Regions from separate parts of the Homo sapiens genome. Here regions 1, 2, 3, 4, 5 and 6 are each linked to region 7. Evidence: promoter capture Hi-C in 16 types of primary human blood cells and fetal thymus (Javierre and others, 2016). All regions are on one chromosome and are shown on one strand. The core of a region is centred on a gene start or on the middle of the fragment in contact, and the rest is flanking DNA. Distances in the headings are between cores, read along the strand shown.

The links. The method cuts DNA at HindIII sites, captures the fragments that hold promoters and counts their contacts. A CHiCAGO score of 5 or more calls a contact.
Region 1: a fragment that was not itself captured here is called in contact with the fragment with the promoter of KRTAP4-4 in region 7 in 1 of 17 cell types (naive CD4 T cells); the score reaches 5.0 in naive CD4 T cells.
Region 2: a contact is called between a fragment that was not itself captured here and the fragment with the promoter of KRTAP4-4 in region 7, in 1 of 17 cell types (monocytes). The highest score is 5.1, in monocytes.
Region 3: a fragment that was not itself captured here is called in contact with the fragment with the promoter of KRTAP4-4 in region 7 in 1 of 17 cell types (neutrophils); the score reaches 5.6 in neutrophils.
Region 4: a fragment that was not itself captured here is called in contact with the fragment with the promoter of KRTAP4-4 in region 7 in 1 of 17 cell types (naive CD4 T cells); the score reaches 5.5 in naive CD4 T cells.
Region 5: a fragment that was not itself captured here is called in contact with the fragment with the promoter of KRTAP4-4 in region 7 in 1 of 17 cell types (naive CD4 T cells); the score reaches 6.2 in naive CD4 T cells.
Region 6: a fragment that was not itself captured here is called in contact with the fragment with the promoter of KRTAP4-4 in region 7 in 2 of 17 cell types (naive CD4 T cells and non-activated CD4 T cells); the score reaches 5.3 in naive CD4 T cells.

The regions. Positions count from the first base shown.
Region 1 is chr17:41,595,420-41,598,607 of GRCh38, reverse strand. No RefSeq gene overlaps it. Among named protein-coding and RNA genes, the nearest start is that of KRT14, 10 kb to the right of the region's middle. The HindIII fragment of the contact is 1,482 bases long and covers 989-2,470 here.
Region 2 is chr17:40,861,666-40,864,668 of GRCh38, reverse strand. It overlaps KRT12 (keratin 12), which reads left to right. Exons shown (of 8, transcript NM_000223.4): 4 at 805-966; 5 at 1,059-1,184; 6 at 1,326-1,546; 7 at 2,034-2,104; 8 at 2,911-3,003. The region is part of intron 1 of LOC105371777 (a long non-coding RNA gene); the gene reads right to left. Among named protein-coding and RNA genes, the nearest start is that of KRT12, 4.1 kb to the left of the region's middle. The HindIII fragment of the contact is 1,078 bases long and covers 818-1,895 here.
Region 3 is chr17:40,887,646-40,890,620 of GRCh38, reverse strand. The region is part of intron 1 of LOC105371777 (a long non-coding RNA gene); the gene reads right to left. Among named protein-coding and RNA genes, the nearest start is that of KRT20, 3.9 kb to the right of the region's middle. The HindIII fragment of the contact is 6,046 bases long and covers 1-2,975 here.
Region 4 is chr17:41,560,195-41,563,408 of GRCh38, reverse strand. No RefSeq gene overlaps it. Among named protein-coding and RNA genes, the nearest start is that of LINC00974, 7.3 kb to the right of the region's middle. The HindIII fragment of the contact is 7,476 bases long and covers 1-3,214 here.
Region 5 is chr17:41,451,968-41,455,062 of GRCh38, reverse strand. No RefSeq gene overlaps it. Among named protein-coding and RNA genes, the nearest start is that of KRT38, 13 kb to the right of the region's middle. The HindIII fragment of the contact is 1,558 bases long and covers 828-2,385 here.
Region 6 is chr17:41,503,089-41,506,107 of GRCh38, reverse strand. It overlaps KRT13 (keratin 13), which reads left to right and starts at 496. Exons shown (of 8, transcript NM_153490.3): 1 at 496-1,052; 2 at 2,383-2,465; 3 at 2,665-2,821; 4 at 3,010-3,019. The coding sequence starts at 558. The HindIII fragment of the contact is 1,600 bases long and covers 524-2,123 here.
Region 7 is chr17:41,159,106-41,162,373 of GRCh38, reverse strand. It overlaps KRTAP4-4 (keratin associated protein 4-4), which reads left to right and starts at 1,626. Exons shown (of 1, transcript NM_032524.2): 1 at 1,626-2,725. The coding sequence starts at 1,683. The coding sequence ends at 2,183. The HindIII fragment of the contact is 13,067 bases long and covers 1-3,268 here.

The sequences.
Region 1 (3,188 bases), core at 480-2,979, 440 kb before region 7:
CCACAATCACCAGCACCACACCAATACCCCCACCACCATCATCCCCACCATCACCACCCCCACAGCCCCACCACCACCATCACTACCATCACCACTACCACCATCCCTACCATCACCACCACAATCACCAGCACCACACCAATACGCCCCACCACCATCACCCCCACCATCACCACTCGCCCCTGCACCACCACCACCACCACCACTGAAATCACCACCCCCACCACCACTACCACCACCACCACCACCACTGAAATCACCACCCCCACCACCACTACCACCACCACCACCATCACCACCACCATCACCACTACCACCATCACTGCCATCACCACCATAATCACTGCCATCATTACCACCATCACCACCCCCACCCCCACTACCACCACCACATCATCACCACCATTACCACTACCACCATCACCACCATGACCACCACAATCACCACCATCATTACCACCATCTCCATCTCCATCACCACCACCACCACCACCACCACCACTACCTCCAGTACCTCCAACACCCCCAGCACCATCATTTCCTTTCCCCCAATCACTCCTCCAGTTCTTTGAAGGGGGTGTTGCTCATATGGGTTAAGTTAGATGGGGAGTAACCAAAGTCTTGGGACACACAGACATCACTCAAGCTGGGACAGTCAAAGGACAGATGCACACTGAGTGCTGCAGTAGAACAGTCCTCGCTAGATGCTGACAGAGAGAACAACCAACAGAACACTGATGAGATAATTGAGATAACGAGGCAGCACAGACTTGGATACCCCCATGGGGCTCCCATGTGGCTCCCTGGGAGGCAGACAGTGCCTGGTCTGCCTTGTGAAGGCTGCACAGCCTCTGGATGCTGCCTCTGCTCCTGTCCACCTAGGCTGTCTCCCTGACCGTGGGGGCCCACCAACTCTTCTTCCCCTTCCCTCACCAATATCCTCCCCCAATCTGGTTTTCCCTCTTTCACTTTGTTTTATCCAGAAGCTTTCCCTTTGTCCCTCCTAGTCTCTTGCTTATGGCCTAAACCTCGAGGCTCATTGGCACGCTGGAGCTGGCTCATGCTGGCTCTTGAGAGCTGGACATTAAAATTTCAGGAATTTTGCAAGGTGATTGTTAAATATGGCCCTCATCAAAAATTAAATTATACGAACTTAAAATTAAATGAATTATATTGAGAACAAAGGTAATGCATACTGAAAACTCATTCCTTCCAAATTATTTTACTACATTGTACTAATATCTGTGCTCTTGAGGTACTTATGACCATTTTATCCATATGGTGGACATGCTATAAGGCAGTGAGCTACTGCACGTCTCTTCCCAACCCTGTGTTAAGTGACTCCCTGTTGGTTGCTTGAAATTGGCCACAGTGGGGGTATTTACAACACGAAAAAAATAAATGTTATAAATTGGGGCTTGATTTATTGTTTTATTGATTGTCTTTTTTTTTTTTTTTTTAAGATGGAGTCTCACTTTGCCACCCAGGCTGGAGTGCAGTGCTGTGGTCATGGCTCACTGCAGCCTTGACCTGCTGGGGCTTAAGCAATCCTTCCACCTCAGTCTTCTGAGTTGCTGGGACTACTGGTGTATGCCTCCATGCCTGGCTAATTATTTTATTTATTTATTTTTGTAGAGATGGTATCTCACTATGTTGCCCAGGCTTGTCTTGAACTCCTGGGCTCAAGTGATCCTCCTATCTCAGCCTCCCAAAGCGCTGGAATTACAGGTGTGAGCCACCATGCCCAGCCCTGAATTGCCTCTTTTAGAAGCTAATTCAAGCTGAGTTTCCGTTGCTTGCAACCAAAATGTGCCCATCAATATATCCTGTTACCTAATTCTTGATTTATTTTTCTTCTATCCTTGCTGGATATTTTTAGTTTTATTATAAATATGTCTTTTATCATAAGCCATCCATGCCCTCTTTTGGAACTGGGAGACAGAAATGGTCATTTTTTTGCAAATATTGCACTGACAACCAGGATGGCCTCATTGAAACCTGAGAGGCTGCTTCCCCATCCCCTCATTCCAGCCACAGAATGTGGGCCCTGCTGGAAGCTCCCAGGCCTTCTCCCCTCACACCTAAACCATCCGCTGACTCTTCCTCATCAGTTTCCAGGCCTGCCCTATTCCCACAGCCTCCACCCTGGCCAGGCCCTTGCAGACTCACCAGCCCATCACCTGGCCGGCTGACCTCAGCAGCTCCCAGCTCCTGCAACAGGAGCTCCAGTAACATCCTGGACTCTTCTCTGTTCTCTGCCTCAAGGTCTTTGGCTGAACCTTGACACCTGTTCTCCATTTGCATCCCCCACTCCCTTTGGTCTAACTTGGGCTTAATTTAAGTGAACTTTTACCAAACACTTCCTCTGTGCCCAGTACCATGCTGGCCACCTGCGCTGACTTACCCACTCCTCTCAATAATCCTGCCAGGCTGAACTGGTTCTATTCCTATTTGATGGAAAACCAAAGCTTGGACGGCTGCAATGGCCTGTCCAAGGTCACATGGCTCGTCAGTGATGGAGCCAAGACTTGAAAGCTGGTCTTTCTGATCGGGAGGCCCTGCTCCTTCCTTGATCCCATGCGGTATCCCGTCTGGGGGAGGGAGGTGGGGTGCAAGATGCTGAATCTGTTCCCACATCTCTGACTGTGGGAAATGACTCTTTCTATCCATGAGGCTAGAACTACTCGGCGACCCCTTCCCTTCCTCTTTCCCTTTCCCTCTGTCCTGCCGACCAGAGCTCAGGACTCCTGACACAGACATTCCGACTCCCAGGTGCTGACTCTCCCCGCAACTCACCACTGTGCTGGAGTTCCCACAGCCACGCCCTCTCCCCACTCCACCCTCCAGGGTTCTTCCTTCTTTCAAAACCTGAGTCAAAGCGCACCCTTTCCAAGAAAACTTCTGTGTGCTAATCCACCCCACCTTGTGGCTCCTGTGCTCCTGGCTCCCCTCAGCCTATGGCACAGGGAAAACTCTGGGCTCTGCAACCCTCCTCCATCAGACTGGACAGCCCACGGGCAAGGGTTGTGTCTCCTGCATCAGACCAGAGTAACACTGAGGACTGACTATGTGAAAAACACTTTGTGGCCCCCTAAGGCACTATGGGGAGGTATAATCAAGGGTGGGGGCACAGATCACAGAGGCAGTGGGAGGTCTGAGAGATGGGGAGAAAGCCAGGTGACCTGAGC
Region 2 (3,003 bases), core at 107-2,606, 300 kb after region 7:
TTTAGATTTCTGTGTGATGTGTGTGGTATGTGTGTGTGTGATGTGTGTGTGTTGGTAGTAGTGATGGTGGTTCCTGCTAAGGCTCAACAAATTTGAGGCACTTTCTGATTTTGTCATTTTCATTATAAGGCAATGACAATAGGAATGCTAACAGTCCTAATTCAGTGATTTTAAAAAGACTGAGTATTTTAAAAGTTAAAACAAAAGTCTACCAATAATATATAATGTTTTATATGTCAGAGAAACTGGTTATACTTAGCATAATGCACACCAGAAAACTCTGAGGTGCCATGGTGCATATTGGAGGCTAGGTAGGGAAGGGATGCTGGCAATAGGAAGTTTCTACTAGATTTTCGATGATTGTGGCACAAACAGCGTGCAAGCCCAGGTACTGTCTGCAGCCCTCGGTTTGGCAGCTGTAGGTGAAAACCCCAGTGAGTGTACGCCAGGCCTCCTTTCACGTGAAGGTCGTGGTCCCTCAAGAAGCAGAGCCAACTTACCCATTAGGCACAGCAGGCACTGCTCCCAGGGTCTGTGGTAATTTCAGGGACCCATGAATATGTCTTAAGTTCTTGTAATATCAGAAGAAAAATATGAATTTTGAGGTTAAAAAAGTTTTAATGTATTACATTAATATATTTGTCTTTATACCAACAGTCATAAGATAGAATTTTTAAGTGTGTGTGTGTGTGTGTGTGTGTGTGTGTGTGTGTGTAGGAAGGGGCCCAAGAGGACAAAAGTATCCAGGGCCCACGAAAGTCACAATGGACCCCTGTGCCCCTCTCTCTCACATGCTGTCCCCAGGAGCTCCAAAGCTTCCGGGTGGGCGGCCCAGGCGAGGTCAGCGTAGAAATGGACGCTGCCCCCGGAGTGGACCTCACCAGGCTCCTCAATGATATGCGGGCGCAGTATGAAACCATCGCTGAGCAGAATCGGAAGGACGCTGAAGCCTGGTTCATTGAAAAGGTAACACAAACAACAAAGGCTTTGATACATTCACAGAAAGGCCTGCGAACGAGCTCAGCGCTCGAGCCCCCTGGCTGTCTTTGCTGTTGCAGAGCGGGGAGCTCCGTAAGGAGATTAGCACCAACACCGAGCAGCTTCAGTCCAGCAAGAGCGAGGTCACCGACCTGCGTCGCGCCTTTCAGAACCTGGAGATCGAGCTACAGTCCCAGCTCGCCATGGTAGGCTCGTGCGCAAACAGACGTAGCATCCTTTGGACTTCCAAAGAAAATGCTGCATCCAAATTACATTAGCCGTTGGCTACCCTCCTCTTTTCGGTCCCCTCCATCGTTATTTCTATGCCATTTCCCTCCCACGTGCAGAAGAAATCCCTGGAGGACTCCTTGGCCGAAGCCGAGGGCGATTACTGCGCGCAGCTGTCCCAGGTGCAGCAGCTCATCAGCAACCTGGAGGCACAGCTGCTCCAGGTGCGCGCGGACGCAGAGCGCCAGAACGTGGACCACCAGCGGCTGCTGAATGTCAAGGCCCGCCTGGAGCTGGAGATTGAGACCTACCGCCGCCTGCTGGACGGGGAGGCCCAAGGGTGAGCAGACAACGGAGGCTGTAAACACCTTCAGGGGCTGACCAAGAGTGGGCAGCAGAAATAGAAGGAATGGGGTTTTAGTTGACAGAAAAGCAAACAAACAAACACAAGTCTAGTAAAGATATGCCTGGGATTTACTAAATGCTCTACACTTTGCAAAGTGTTTTCACCCATTATCTTACTTGATAATTCATAAAATGCTGCAAAGAACAAAGGCACCACGGTCAGAAACAGTTTGTAAATGAGTACTCCCTGTACTATAAAAGTCACTTACTCAATTTCTGATATCAAAGACCTGATGATAAGAAGGACACATAGTAGCCACCTGAACCACCTACTCTAACAAGCTTTCCAAAAGTGATCAGAGTCTGCACTAGTTGGAAGAACTCAGGCCTACAAATTGGGAAATCTAATTTCTCAGACCAGATCTTCCATTAAAAGCCAGGTTGTTTCACTTTTTGAGGTCATCTCCTTTGTTTTCTTACAGTGATGGTTTGGAGGAAAGTTTATTTGTGACAGACTCCAAATCACAAGCACAGTCAACTGATTCCTCTAAAGGTATGCAGAAACCCTAGAATCACTTAGAATAAGTCGGAATCACATTTATTAATGCAAAACCTGTAAGACCTCATTGACTACTGCATTATTATTAATTTTAATTTAAAGCATATTTATATTCTGAGCCAAGGAAAAACATTTATGCATTCCTGCACAAAATGAGTAGTCTATACCATATTAAAACTTTTGGGGGCCTGGGCATGGTGGCTCATGCCTGTAACCTCATAGCTTCGGGAACCTGAGGTGGGAGGATCGCTTGAGGCCAGGAGTTCGTGACCCACCTGGGCAAATAGCGAGACCCCATCTCTACAAAAAACTTAAGAAAAAAAATAGCTGGGTGTGGTGGTGTATACCTGTGATCTCGGCTACTCTGGAGGCTGAGGCAGGAGGACCGCTTGAGCCCGGGAGTTAGAGGTTATAGTGAGCTATGATCATGCCACTGCATTCCTACCTGGGCAACAGAGCCAGACCCTGTCTTTAAGAAAATTAAAATTAAAATTAAAAAATAAAAAAAATGGCAAAGCAGAAGGGAAAAAACCTACTCTGCTGCAAGGTATTATGATCACCATAACCACCTTTGAAATGTTTTCTTAAAAAAAGTTTTCATATATGTACAAGGCAACACTGAATACATTTCATTGTCATTGGCTAAAACACATTTTTGAGAAGTAAAATTTACTTTTGAAAGTTTAATTAGATGGATTGTATCAACCAATGCTTAATTTAGAAGCCTACATTAAACAACCAGTGTTGGATTAATATTTGAAACACTAACTCTTGCCCCCTTATTCCATTTTTATCTTTAGACCCAACCAAAACCCGAAAAATCAAGACAGTTGTGCAGGAGATGGTGAATGGTGAGGTGGTCTCATCTCAAGTTCAGGAAATTGAAGAACTAA
Region 3 (2,975 bases), core at 208-2,707, 270 kb after region 7:
TTACATGACTTCTAAATATCTGCTCCCTGTTTGAGGCTTTTTTCATTATAATTATGGTATATTTTAATGAATAAAAATTGCTAAATCAGTATCAATTTTGTACTTCACAGTTTTCACTTTTTGTGTCTTGTTTAAAAATACTCCTTTACTCTAATTCCTAGAGATATTATTCTGTGTTTTCTTCTAAATGTTGTATAGTTTTTAACTTTTCACATTTTTATCTTTAATGAATCTGGAATTCATTTTCTTATATTTTAGGTAAATTTTGCCTTAGACAGAAATACAACTGCCATTTGTTAAATATGGGATACTCCATTTCTTTCCTCATTGATTTGAAATGCCCAAGCCGTACAAAATTAGTTTCTATAGGCAACAGATCTGTTTCTGAGCTCTTTGTGCTAATTCACTGGCTTATTTCCAGATCATTGTAAGAGCCATCATGTGAAAGGCAAAACCATAAAATTAGAAAACATAATATGCATTCTTTTTTTTCTTCAACTTTTATTTTAAGTTCAGGGGTAAATGTGCAGGATGTGCAGTTTTGTTACATAGGTAAACATGTGCCACGGTGGTTTACTGCACAGATCATCCCAACACCCAGGTATTAAGCCTAGCGTCCATTAGCTATTCTTCCTGATGCTTTCCCCCCAACCACAGGTGCCAGTGTGTGTTGTTCTCCGCCATGTGTCCCTGTGTGGAAAATATAATATGCATTCTTAACCTGTCAATATCTAAAGTTAATCTGTATGTTTGCTGTTTTCCTAAACAGTCCCGCAATTTAGAACAATTTAACTCCATTCATCCCCTTCCAGCCCTCATCTACTTTAATTCCATATTGTTTTTTCTTCTCAATAGATATATTATTTTATAGCCAATACTTGTCTTTACATTTACATTTGGTCGCATGCTTAGCACTCTATTTGTTCATTATTTTAATTCTTTTATGCATCTCAGAACTTTCATCTGGAATCATCTTCCTTCTGCTTAAAACACATTCTTTCAGATTGCTCTTAGTGAAAACTTAGAAGTTGATGGCAAATTCAGTTTTTTAAATGTTGAAAATGGCTTTATTTTACCCTTCTTCAAATATAATGTTACCGAGTCAGAAAATTCCGGAATGGCAGTTATTTCCTCCCAGCACATTGAAGATTCTATTCCATTTCCAGTGTCCATTGTTGCTTTTGAGGAGTCAGTCATCAGTCTAACCACCATTCCTTTGTTGGTGATTTATTCTCTATCTGCTTGTAATTATCTGGTTTTCTGCCTCAATGTGTGTAGTGATTTATTTTTATTCCTTTTGCCTGGAATTCATTAGGTCTCCTTAATCTGAGAACTTGGGTTTTTTTTAAAGAATTCTATAAAATTCTCACTTTTTATTTTGTTGAATGTTTTCTTATTCTCTTGTGTCTTCTTCTGGAACTCTGATTAGACATATTTAGACCTTCTAATTATAGCCTTCATGCCTTCTTGACTTCCTCCTTCGTCACTTAGCTGCATTCTGGAAATTTTCCTCAGAGCTACATTTTGTTCAATAATCCTGGCTTAATCTGTTCCTGGATCCATCCACTGAACTTGTAATTTTAACGGCATTATTTATTTCCTCTGGTTTGTATTTCAGATCTGCTTGGTACTTGCTCCAATTTTAAGTTTGTTTTATTTTCTAAAACAATTTATATTTATATTCTTCATCCAATCATTCTATAGCCACTATGAGACAATAAATAAATCCATCCAACTCATCAAAACACAGCTGAGAATTACCAAATAAGTACAAACAAAAACCTAAATATGACTGATTAACTGTGCAGAATACAATGATGTAAGTTTACTATACATCAACCTCCTTGTACCCATCTCCTCGCTTCAACAAATAACTCAGGGCAAAACTTCCTTCATCCATACTTCCACCCTCCTTCTCCCTGTCTGAACAAGATGCCACTCCAGAGACTGCAGGTTCTATGTCTATCATATGTGATTGCAATAGCTTGGTCATGGTAGAATACAAAAAAAAAGAAAAAAGTTGAAAGCCCTCTGAAAACTGTAGTGCTTATAATAGCCTTCCCAACTACTGGCCATACTTAATATTAATCATTAACACTCTCAGTAGAGTGTCTCAGAAGTCAAAATGTATCTCCTACTAGCTACAAGGAAGTTGGGATCTAATAAGTATTTATTTACAGCTGCAGTCACCCAACAGCCTGAAATACCAGGGTCTCTAAATTCATGACTTTGTGTATGAACAAGGGTCAATAGGATCTTTACTCAGTCCTCGAGATATAACTCAGAAAAATGAATTGCTGTGAAAAACTCACTTGATTTCCTGTGGTCACATTATAAGATCGAATAATCTACAAAAGTACAAAACTCAGTGATATAGAGAAGCCAGCAAATTCTCCTGCCCTTATATAAACAGGTGGGAGGCTTTCCAGTAGAATTTTTTCTACTCCAACAAATTGGTAGATTGAATGACTATACCTCATAATGATGACACTATTGTATCATATTTTAGTTTAAATTTAAAACCTCAAAAACTTACCAAAACTAGCCAAAGATTTCTGGAATAAGATATAGACAAAGTTATTTCTCAAAAAAAAGAAAAAAATTGGCTGGGCCGGGTGCAGTGGCTCACGCCTGTAATGCCAGCACTTTGGGAGGCTGAGGCAGGCAGATCACAAGGTCAAGGGATCAAGATCAGGCTGGCCAACGTGGTGAAACCCCATCTCTACTAAAAATACAAAAATCAGCTCGGCGTGGTGGTGCCCACCTGTAATCCCAGCTACTAGGGAGGCTGAGGCAGGAGAATTGTGTGAACCGGGGAGGGGGAGGTTGCAGTGAGCTGAGATCATGCCACTGCACTCCAGCCTGGTGACAGAGCAAGACTCCGTCTCAAAAAAAAAAAAAAAAAAAAAAAAAACGGCTGGACACAGGGGCTCACACCTGTAATCCCATCATTTTGGGAGGGTGGGGTGGGAGGA
Region 4 (3,214 bases), core at 44-2,543, 400 kb before region 7:
TTTTTCTGCTACCTGCTGTCTTCCTCATCTACCATTTTACATATCTTTTTATTTATTTTATTTATTATTATTATTATTTTTTGAGACGGAGTCTCACTCTGTCGTCCAGGCTGAAATGCAGTGGCACGATCTCAGCTCAATCCAACCTCTACCTCCCGGGTTCAAGCGATTTTCTGCCTCAGTCTCCTGAGTAGCTGGAACTACAGGCACCTGCCACCACGCTGAGCTAATTTTTGTATTTTTAGTAAAGACGGGGGTTTCACCATGTTGGCCAGACTGGTCTTGAACTCTTGATCTCAGGTGATCCACTTGCCTCGGCCTCCCAAAGTGCTGGGATTACAGGTGTGAGCCACAAGGCCTGGCCCATTTTATGTATCTTTTCTCTACCTCAATTTGGGAAATTCTCCACCTTAAGTGTGAAGCTCCCCAAGGGAGAGGTCAGAAACTTGCTTTTCCGAGCTCACCTGCATCTAGGGCATGGGCCCCTGACAGCCCTGCCACTCAGGTGCGCCCGCACAAGACGTTTTTTTTTTTTTTTTAACCATGGCACCCCATTGGAGTGAAGGACTTTGATTTTGATTTAAAGGAGGTGCTGAGTGGAATTTTTTATGGCAGGAACAAGGTTGGGCAGAGATATGTGATTTTTTGAGGAAGCAATAGCAGCGGCTCTGGCAAAGACATGCAGTGCCCATCATCCATAGTTTGAGCTTCAATTTTGGTGGCCAGAAGTGACAGCAGTGGTGTGTTCCTAGAGCAATCCTTGAGTGTGATTTGGGGAATTTTTCTGTTTGCATACCCTCCAAGTTTGATTCTCTGCACATCCTGGAAAAGATGCCCAGTAGTTGCTCATTATTTCACAGGGAATACATTCAAAGATCCTGACTGGATGCCCAAAACTGTGGATAGCACCTAAATCTATCTACACTATGCTTTTTCCTACACATTCATACTTAAGATACAGTTTACTTTATAAATTAGGCAGACCAAGAGATTAACAACAATAACTAATAAAATAGAATCGTTATAACAATATACTGTAATAAAAATTATTTGAATGTGGTCTCTCTCTTTCAAAATATCTTATCATACTGTAGATCTTAGCAACCTCAGCGTATGGTTTTTTTCTTTCCGTAGTAAGTTTTGAACTGTCATCTTTTCTCTTAAAGAAAGCATTTTGCTGGCTGGGCGCGGTGGCTCATGCCTGTGATCCCAGCACTTTGGGAGGCCAAGGCTGGAGGATCACCTGAGGTCAGGAGTTTGAGACCAGCCTGACCAGTATGGAGAAACACTGTCTCTTCCAAAAATACAAAATTAGCCAGGCATGGTGGCGCATGCCTGTAATCTCAGGTACTTGGGAGGCTGAGGCAGGAGAATCGCTTGAACCCGGGAGGCAGAGGTTGAGGTAAACCGAGATCACGCCATTGTGCTCCAGCCTGGGAAACAAGAGCAAAACTCCTTTTAAGAAAAAAAAAAAAGCACTTTGTGGCTTCCCTTTGGCAAATCTGAATTATCAGCATCACTGCTCTTGCACTTTGGGGTCGTAATTAAGTAAAATAAGGGAACACAAGCACGGCAATACTGCAACAGTTGATCTGACAACTGAGACAGCTACTAAGCGACGACTAGTGGGTGGGTGGTGCATAGAGCATGGAGAGCTGGACAAAGGGATGATTCCTGTCCTGGGCTGGACAGAGTGGGGCAGTGTGAGATTTCATCATGCTCTTCAGGGCAGCACACTTCAAAACTGACAAATTGTTTATTTCTGGAATTTTCCATTTAATATTTTTGGATGACAGTTGACCACAGGTAACTGAAGCTGTGGAAAGCGAAACCATGGATAAGGGGAATGACCGTGTTGCTTTCTCTGCAGGTGAAAGCATATTTATTCTGGTACTCTTTGTTTATTGGGATAAAGAAAAAAGAATTTCCCACAGCAGGTGCCAGGGTCAATGGTGATCTGCTTTAGAAAAGGGACACAATCTGGATCAACGACTGCTGTTGGAACAACCATGTGATAAATTGTAAAATAATTCATGGCTATTCTCTAACATCTGTTCATGTTCTGCACAGAAAAACTAGGCAAGTTAACCCTAAATTTATCATTTTTTTTTTGAGACAGGGTCTCTCTCTGTTGCCCAGGCCGGTGGGCAGTGGTACAATCACAGTTCACTGAAGCCTTGACCTCCCAGGTTCAAGCAATCCTCCTACCTCAGGCTCCCAAGTAGCTGGGACTACAAGCGTGTGCCACCACGCCAGACTAATTTTTGAGGTTTTTTTTTTTTTTTTTTTTTTTTTTAAACTAGAGACAGGGATCTCACTCTATTGCCAGGGCTGATCTTACATTCCTGTGTTCTCTCCCCATCTTGCCCTTCCAAAGTGCAGGGATTACAGGCATGAGCCACCACTCCTGGCCCATCAAATCTTTCATGTGGCACTAATCTCTGTCATTCCCTTAGAGATGTAGTGTTGCTGGTCCTTTTTCTAAACCACGTAATCCTTACTGGTAAGGATCAGGATCCTTTTACTGACTATGTCTAGTCCACTCCAGACACTGGGAAATAACCACAGGATTGGTCTGGGATACCACTGGGCTCATGAGAAGCAAACTTGGGCTAAAACTCCATTTGTCATCTGATCTCTATATTGGTTAGATTCTCAATTGCAACTACCAGAAACTACTTTGCCTATTTTAACAAGTAAGGGATTTTCAAGAGCTCTAGATACCTTAGAGAATCATTAGGAGGGCTGGAGAAACAGAATCTAGGGTGATTTTTCCAGAACCCTCCAAATGACAAAGCAGAGTGGATCTGCCAAAGGAGTTGTTGCCTCTGCCAAGACCATGAAACCACCAAGTCAGATTGGAGCCTTCTGAGTCCATTCTGCACTAATTCTGGACTCAGCTGGAGTTGCAGAGCCACGCTGCTTCTGCTGTCCATACCAGTAAGCTGGATGTCCCAGGTGAACCTCATTTCCTCACCTACTTCCCTTCTAAACCAAGTCCACATGGGTGCGTCTGACTAGTAGAACCTAAATTGCTCAGCTCATCTTAGTGGCAAGGGAGGCTGGTAAATGTAGTTTTTAGATCTCCCTGGAAAAGAATAGTGACAAGATGACAGATACAACCTACACTCACATGAGCTTCCATTCTAACTGGGGAACCACAGTATTGCTCTGCATTTTCAGAGATTAGAATTGGTTTGGAGCCAGCGTCCAA
Region 5 (3,095 bases), core at 357-2,856, 290 kb before region 7:
TTTTGGTAAATCAAGTTTTATTGGAGCATAGCCACACCCATTCATTTCCCTGTTGTCTATGTCTGCTTTGTGCTACAATGGCAGAGCTAAGTAGTTGCAGTACAAAGAGAGTATACGACTTGCAAAGCCTAAAATATTTAGCATCTGTCTTTTTAACAGAAAAAGCTTGTCCATCTTGGTGCAGAGGAAACAGAATGTGCTAGGGGCCCTGGGACCAGTCCTGGCTCTGTATCTGACTTGCTTGGCATCCCTGGGGAGCTCACTGTCCTTCTCTGGTCTCTGAAGCACGAAAGGTTGAATTAGTACTTGGAAGTTTTCTTTAGTTCTAATAACTTAGCAGTCTTTGCTCTATTGCTCTTTAGGGATTCCTGAGGCTCTTATCAGAGAATTTTACTTTTTTGGGTATTGAAGGTCAGTGGAGAGGACGATTCATCTTAGAGCCAATGCCATTCCTAGAGAGAGGCCAGATAGTCACTCAAGGAACAAAGTCTAACTTTTCAATGGGGCATCTCTAAAGAGAAAACATTTAACATTTCTTTTCACAACAGAAGGCAGTAACAAGAAGTCCAAAGTCAGCCCTTTCTTTCATAAAGTGGGGAGCTACTTCTGAGGACTGAATAACTGCTGATGGGTTGTTCTGATGGCAGAACAAATGAGGATTCATTGGGGGAAAGCTTGTGTATCACATCTGCTCCTATGGCAGGTGAATAAAAGCTCTGGGTGAGGAAACACTCACACCTGAGCACCTGGCCCTTGTCACCAATCTGCAACTCAACTGTCTAGGACCATGGCTTCTAGTTAAAGCAGAAATCCCTGCTCCTCAAGCTTTGGCAAGAGCCATTTGAAGCCTCCTTGCTCCAGACAGGCTGTGGCCAGAAACCACTCTAGAAACTCTGTACCCAATGTCTGTAGATCCCAGTATTAAGACTGGGGCCCACCTGTAAGAGAGTCACCAACCTAGTAGCCATCTCCTTAGAACCTGTGGCTCACAGTCAGTCCAGCCTGGCCCTGCCAGCAGTCACTCTGCCTGTCCTCTGCCAGGGACCAGGAACATCCCTGCCAGTATGGGCACCTGTGGCTGGTTCAGTGAAGACATCCTCAGCAGCAGTGGGAAAGGGATCATGCAGTTCTTAAGTGAGTGCCTGGCCAACTGCTTGCAGAAGTTGCAGCAGTTGGAGCAGGAGAATGAGAAGCAGGGGTGGTGCTGAGAGCCAGCAGTGGAGCAAACGGCAGTGCCCTGACATATGCTCCAATTACTGCTCACACTTTGAGACCATTAAGGAGCTCCAACAAAAAGTAAGATGAGGCCTTGAGCTCTGGTGTCAGTGGCATGGAAAGAGAGGGCTGAGGATTGGTGATGGGAGAATTGGAGGGGTTGCCTGGGGGGATGACAGTCCATGAATGTTCATAAAGATGGATTGAAGGTGCCAGAAATAAACTGTGATGTCAAGGGCCCAACCACTTGGTTCTACAACCAGTTCCATTCAACAAGCATCATTGCTGATGTCTGCAATGAGAGGACTGTGAGTGGGATATGGATTTATTTCTTCACAATCCAGATCCTGCCTTATTTAAGGACATGCCACCATTCACTCACTAGTTATTGAGCACCAGCAATGAGTGATTGCATCGCTGGGTGCTGGGGAGCAGACAGTGCCTACAAAATGAAGCCTCAGCTCTTTAGCCTGGCATTCAAGGCTGCCATGTTCTCAGCCTCACTTTTTTTTGTAGCTTACCTCTTTCTAATCTTCTGCAAACATCCTGTGCTTCTATCAAACTGCTTTGTCACTTGCCCTATGCTTCTGTCAAACTGCGTTGTCACTCACAAAATGTTTGTTCACATGTGTAGTGCTTTCTTTCTCATCTTTGCATGGCCAAATTCTAGTTGGGCTTCAAAACCCAGGTGATATTCCCCACCTCCTGGAATCCTCTCTAGAAGCTAATCCCCCTGGGATGGATTTTGCCTTCCATGGAATAACCCACAGCCGCATATCTGAACGTCTCTTGTGGCATTCTCATCTTTCTATTTGTTTTGGAGTTCCTGTTCTGTACAAGATGGTGGAAAGGATGAACAACCTAACTTCATTTTTAAAAAATTAATCACATTTATTTAGTATTTTCCATTAAGTGCTGATATTCAGCTGGGATGTAGCAGTCTGTCTCTGTGGCCGTTTCCACATCTCCTTTTAGATTGCTGCCAACAGTGGTTATAATATTTCTGAAATCATCCTTGATTCTACTAAATGTCAAACCTGAACTGGGAATTTTCACATACCTTTTTTCTTTGAACCATTTCAGCAATCCTCTAAGGTGGATATTATTATTTCTATTTTATCTAAAAAGAATAGAGCACCTTTATTAAGAGCTCACTAGATGTCAGAAGCTTTGCTAAACATATATGCTTGGTTGCATTTAATCCTTACAAGGATTTGATGAAGCAGATAGAATCACGTTTTCCATTTTACAGATGGGAAGATTTTAAGCTTCAGGGGGTTAGAAGCTATGCCTAAAGTCTCAGAGCTGGTAAACTGCCAAGCTGCGTGACACAGGTCCACTTAACCACTGTGTTGGTGCCTTTGAGGAAGTGGATGAGGAGAAAAAGGGAGGGTGAGTGAACCAGAAGCATGTCTTGGCTGTGCAGAGCTGGGTTTCAGTCCAAGGGGCTATCCCTTCAACCCCCTCACTGCTGCCCAGACCTGACCAATGGAGCCCACAGTAGAGTGAGAAGTGAAACCCCATCTGTATCCCAGAGCGCAGCTAGTTTCGTTACAGATGGGAGCAAACCCTTGGATACTTGATGCTTAAAAATCCACCATAAGGAAAGATGGAAACGTCCCCATGTGGCTCAGATCACATTTTTTTTCATTCATTTTAGGGCCTGGGGAGAATTCCATGGAGAGCATCCTTGTGAAGCATGGTGTTTCTCATTCTCAGATCTCACCCAGGAGGGTAGGGAATGCTTGGTTGGCTGTCCAGGTGGACAATGTGAAAATAGCTGTGACAACTTTAGGACAGAGAGAGTCTGACAGGAGCTGGGAACTGCTGCTCCCTGGTACTCTGTCCATCTCTTTCGTGTCAGGTACAGGTCTCTGTGG
Region 6 (3,019 bases), core at 74-2,573, 340 kb before region 7:
GTCATCAGAGTTGCTGGGGCCCCTGGAGTAGATGAAGTGCTAAGAAGGATCCAGGACATCCCAGTCAGAAGTTTTAGGTATAGAAAAAAGGAAGGTCGAGGGCTACGGTGACCTTGCAAAGCACAGAGCCACTCTGCACCCACCACTTTCCTCGCAGAAGCTCCTGGCAGGCCTCCGCATCTCAGGTCCCGTTCTAATACTGGGTGGGGCTCAGAGCCTGCACAGTGAACTCCTTAAGTGGAGGTGAAACAGAATTCACTTGTCAAAAGGGCAGTCTCAGGCAGAATGCTGTCCCCTCTGAATCATTCTTTTTGTTAAGGATTAAAAAAAAAGCCACCCCCAAAAGGCACAACCCACCCTGGAGAGATCAGAGATAACTAAGCTTGTGGGAAACAGAAGTGTAGTTGGCACCAAGTCAGAGGGTGGGGAAGGGAGGAGAGAAGATAACCAGCCCCTATGGAGGTGTATAAAAGGTGTCCACTCTGGGGAAGAGCCACAGTCCTCGGCCCAGGCCAAGCAAGCTTCTATCTGCACCTGCTCTCAATCCTGCTCTCACCATGAGCCTCCGCCTGCAGAGCTCCTCTGCCAGCTATGGAGGTGGTTTCGGGGGTGGCTCTTGCCAGCTGGGAGGAGGCCGTGGTGTCTCTACCTGTTCAACTCGGTTTGTGTCCGGGGGATCAGCTGGGGGCTATGGAGGCGGCGTGAGCTGTGGTTTTGGTGGAGGGGCTGGTAGTGGCTTTGGAGGTGGCTATGGAGGTGGCCTTGGAGGTGGCTATGGAGGTGGCCTTGGAGGTGGCTTTGGTGGGGGTTTTGCTGGTGGCTTTGTTGACTTTGGTGCTTGTGATGGCGGCCTCCTCACTGGCAATGAGAAGATCACCATGCAGAACCTCAACGACCGCCTGGCTTCCTACCTGGAGAAGGTGCGCGCCCTGGAGGAGGCCAACGCTGACCTGGAGGTGAAGATCCGTGACTGGCACCTGAAGCAGAGCCCAGCTAGCCCTGAGCGGGACTACAGCCCCTACTACAAGACCATTGAAGAGCTCCGGGACAAGGTGAGCCCTTGGAAGCTGAGGAGGGGTCCTCCATGAAGGGCAGAGCCTCCAAGGCCAAGAAACACAGTGTTGTGGGGGACTAGGTGTGGACGGAATTCACAAACTTCTTGCAGGGGAAAAGCCTACTGTTTGACTACCAAGAGTCTCTACCTCTGATGGGCTTTCTCATGCCACAACTCCCCAAATGCATTTTCTCTCATTATTCATTTTTATGATTGTTATTACTCAGGTCAGTTTTTTTACTGCTTTCCAGACAGTTATGTTATTCATGACTCGATCTCTATAATCCTAACCTACTGAGTTATCTGGAAACATGACAGGTTTAAAAGCCATTAAGAATGCATGAAATCAACAGAGAAAGAGAGACGTGTTCATTCATTGCCCTGGGAATAATTGTTTACTTTGTAGGGGACCCATTCAAACTGGTATTCTCAACTGGCGATGGCCAAGTTGGGGGAGAGAGAGGCAGAGGCTTAGGCAGTGCCGAGCCTGGGTGCCCTTTGTTGAGCCCTGTCTGTTGTGCTGTGATACCAGCCTGTTGGAGCAGAAATCTACCAGCCTGGGCTGAGTCTCAGCCATGTGGAGCAGGCTTTCACTGCTTTGGAATATAAACGTTTAGACAAGAAATTCAAAGGGATGGGAATATTTGTTGGATTTCCCCTCCACTCAGCTGGGAAGTCAGCTCTAGCAAAGTGATTGTGAGATATGTGGCACCAAGCCGAGTCCCTCCTGACTTTCAGGGGATGGATCTCAAGACAGTGGCCTAGGGAGGGTGCTAGTCTGAGGCTGCCAAGACATGACGAACCAAAGATGTTCTCAGCAGGTCGTTCCTCAGAAATGCACTCCCTGCATCTCCCCCAGGGTGCTCAGACATGGAATATTAAAGTGTTAGAAACGATTGGAGGGGATGCAGCCCCACTCCTCACTTTACAGAAGAGCAATGGAGGCCCAGAGGGAAATGCCTTGTCCCAGCTCACAGGACAGTTTAGAGGTAGAGCCCCATGGGAACCAGGTCCTGCCCATGTTTTCCCAGGCCACCTCCTCAAGCACGTGGACCCCCCAGAGCAAGCTTGTCTAACCTGTGGCCGGTGGGCTGCATGTGGCCCAGGACAGCTTTGATTGAGGCCTAACACAAATTTGTAAGCTTTCTTAAAACATTGAGTTTTTTTTTATTTTTTATTTTTGCCAATTTCTTTTTAGCCCATCAGCTATCGTTAGTGTTAGCGTATTTGATGTGTTGCCCAAGACAATTCTTCTTCCAATGTGGCCCAGGGAAGCCAACAGACTGGACACCCATGCCCTAGAGGTTACCTTCTTCTGCATTTTGTAGATCCTGACCGCCACCATTGAAAACAACCGGGTCATCCTGGAGATTGACAATGCCAGGCTGGCTGCGGACGACTTCAGGCTCAAGTGAGTTTTTTTTTTCCCCCTCCCTCTCCTTTCCCAGGAGTCTCTTAGTTTAGACAAAAGCTCATCTGACCAATGACACTGGAGCATCCCAGGAGTGAAGGTCTGGAAGTACTGGAGTCTCGTGCAGGGGTAGGGAGAATGTCTCATATCATTTATGTCTTGCTTTTTCAAAAAACATTTCATTTTTTTACTATTTTAGGTATGAGAATGAGCTGGCCCTGCGCCAGAGCGTGGAGGCCGACATCAACGGCCTGCGCCGGGTGCTGGATGAGCTCACTCTGTCTAAGACTGACCTGGAGATGCAGATCGAGAGCCTGAATGAAGAGCTAGCCTACATGAAGAAGAACCATGAAGAGGTGAGCGGGAATTGCAGGCTGCCCTGGGCTCAACAACCTCCAGTGAGAAGGAGGAGCCCTCCCCTGCAACTGGACACAGTCCTCCACTGTGGGACCTGGAAACACTCTCCAGAACACTCTGCCAGCACTCAGAGCCAAGGAGAGGGAGGATGAGTAGCCTCACACATCTTCCTTTCCCATCCCCACAGGAGATGAAGG
Region 7 (3,268 bases), core at 377-2,876:
GACCAGTCCAAACAGAAATTGCTAACCCAAGAGCATCCCAAAGTGGAGGGTGGCACAAAGACAGGAAGTTTCTGCCTTCTTCCTTGGGTTTCTTTAACATCCAGGTTTGGGGGAGTGTGTGTGTGTGTGTGTTTGAGTGTGTGTGTGTGTGTGTGTGCATAATATTCCTAAGGTAAAGGGCCTTAGGAGATAAAGGTAAATACATATATATATAAATATATATATTTCTAAATATGTTATTGTATATATTATATATATATTTATACATACTATTAAATACAAACATATATGAAGAATATATATTATATATTCATAAATATGTAAATATATATATTCCTATATTACCTATATATAAGGTTCTCTATCTACCCATCTATATATGTATAATATATATATATATTCCTAAGGTCCTTTGGCAGAATATATATATTCCCCCAAACCTGTGTGTGTGTGAGTGTATATATATATATACATATACATCAAAAGAAAATTATGGGCCTAGAAGAATTAAAATCACCCAAGGTCAGACATAATGTGTGTGTATGTGTGCGTGTGTGTGTGTATATATATATATATATATATATATACACACACACACGCACACATACACACACATACATACACACACATATATGTGTGTGTATGTGTGTATATTTATATATAGTGTGCATATTTATATATAGTGTGTATATTTATATATAGTGTGTATATACGTGTGTGTGTATACTATATATAGTATATATATGTATATATATAATATATATTATATATATATATATATATTATATATATATAGCAAGGACACTGGGTCCTTTACCTTAGGTTGGCAAGTAAACCTTAGAAATAGAGGAGATGACTCAATGTGATTGTTAAAGCCAGAGAGACAGGAAGGAAAAGTCAGAAGGAAAATCAGCCCCTCAGAGCAGAGAGCGGAGGGACCTGAACCTTTTAGTATAGCTGATCTCTGTAGCCAATTTCCCCTAAAGGCCCTGAAACTGAGTTTTGGAGTGTTGTTTCTCAAGAAAAAGAAGCATCGATAATTCATGACTTAGATGTCCACCTTAAAACAATTCTGCTTTCCCCAGTAGAACATCTAGAAAATGGGTCATGATTCATTGTATGGAAGGTGGCAAGGAATATATCCTAATAGTATTTGTTTTCATGCCACTGGTCACCTGTTTCACATTCAAACCTTCATTGCTCACTTGATCTATAACAAACATGCCATGAGATTAAAGCACAGCTTTCTCCTCCTGAGTCACCAAAAGAAAATTACGGGCCTAGAAGAATTAAAATCACCCAAGGTCAGACATAATGTATTAAGGAAAATGAGGCTGCAGCACATGGTACCTGCAGGCAGATGTCACATGGCAGCTCAAGGAGGAAGCTGCAGCAAGAGGCACACAAGAGGTTGTTCAAGAAGAGCTGACCTGAAGAATCCTAACACACCAGGGGAAGGAAATAATGCTTTTCTCCATGTTGACAAATTTAAGCAGAAAAACAAACTTGCCTAATTTGATAATTGCCTGCTCATCAGAACAAACAATGACAAGGAAAGAGTGCTGCATCCGATGACATCAGCCCTGAGCAGGGTATAAAAGAGGATCTGGGGCAAGGAGACTTCCAAGCCTTCCAAACCCTCCTTCCTGGAAACCCACCCAGAACCTCCACCCTCTGACACCATGGTCAACTCCTGTTGTGGCTCTGTGTGCTCTGACCAGGGCTGTGGCCTAGAGAACTGCTGCCGTCCCAGCTACTGCCAGACCACCTGCTGCAGGACCACCTGCTGCCGCCCCAGCTGCTGTGTGTCCAGCTGCTGCAGACCCCAGTGCTGCCAGACCACCTGCTGCAGGACCACCTGCTGCCACCCCAGCTGCTGTGTGTCCAGCTGCTGCAGACCCCAGTGCTGCCAGTCTGTGTGCTGCCAGCCCACCTGCTGCAGACCCCAATGCTGCCAGACTACCTGCTGTAGGACCACCTGCTGCCGCCCCAGCTGCTGCAGGCCCCAGTGCTGCCAGTCTGTGTGCTGCCAGCCCACCTGCTGCTGCCCCAGCTACTGTGTGTCCAGCTGCTGCAGACCCCAGTGCTGCCAGACCACCTGCTGCAGAACCACCTGCTGCCGCCCCAGCTGCTGTGTGTCCAGGTGCTACAGGCCCCATTGTGGCCAGTCTCTATGCTGCTAGCCCATCTGCTGGCAAACCACCTGCTACAGGACCACCTGCTGCCACCCCAGCTATTGCATTTCCAGCTGCTGCCAGCCTTCCTGCAGTATCTCTAGCAGCAGTAGCTCCTCCTGCTGTGGCTTCAGCTGCTGCAGGCTCTCCTGCTGCATCTCCAGTTGCTGCCGCCCCAACTGCTGCCAGACCATGTGCTGCCGCCCAACCTGCTCTAGTGCTTCTTGCTGCTGAGGCTGTCATCTGGACTCACCAGATTCTCATCAACCAGCATTCTTGATGTAGCTCATCTATGAGCTGAGTTATGGGAAGCTAGTTGGAAAACTTCAGTTCCAACCAATTCTTAGATTGAATCTGGCCTCCAAATATATGCTCCCCCCACATTTTACCTCTCTACCAAATGAACATAAGTTGTAATTTGCTCTGAAATCTGTCAACTATCTTAATTGAAATATTTGCTCTCTGCCATAATTTCTCATATGGAGCTATTCCATTTTAAACAAATATTTATCTAAATAAATCTTAAATAAATTTTCAGGCATAGAAATATACAGATACTGTGTCTCATTATTTTTCTTTTTTGAGTGTGGTCAATTACCAGTCAATTTTTCTGTTGTTCTTCTCTGCAGAATGTAATTTCAGGGGCACCACCTCTATTTCCTCAGCACACTTTATTCTAATATACAATGGTGGTTTCTTAGAGCAAGCACCTGGAACTCTCTTCTTGAAGAGTTTCTCTAGCCAAGGAGCAAGCTCTGGACTGTAGAGTTAAAGCCTCTTGGAATAGTATTCAACAAATGAGTGAGAGTTGGTGAACACATGCTTTAGTTATTTCTCCTCCAGTTGGGAGCATGTTGTACCAGCATGTCAGTGGTCCTCAGAGACACCAAATTCCAGCTACCTACAGGGCTATTCTGATCATTAACTCATCTTGTATTCACTTCCCTCCCTTTCCTGGAGCATTTTTCGTGTTCCATACAGCACTTCTTGGGACCACCTCCCAAATATACTCCTGGGTCGGCTCCAGTGGGGACCCAATCTAAGACACCAGTGTTCCTAACCTCAGTATTAGTGCCCTTCAAAACATTTTTCCT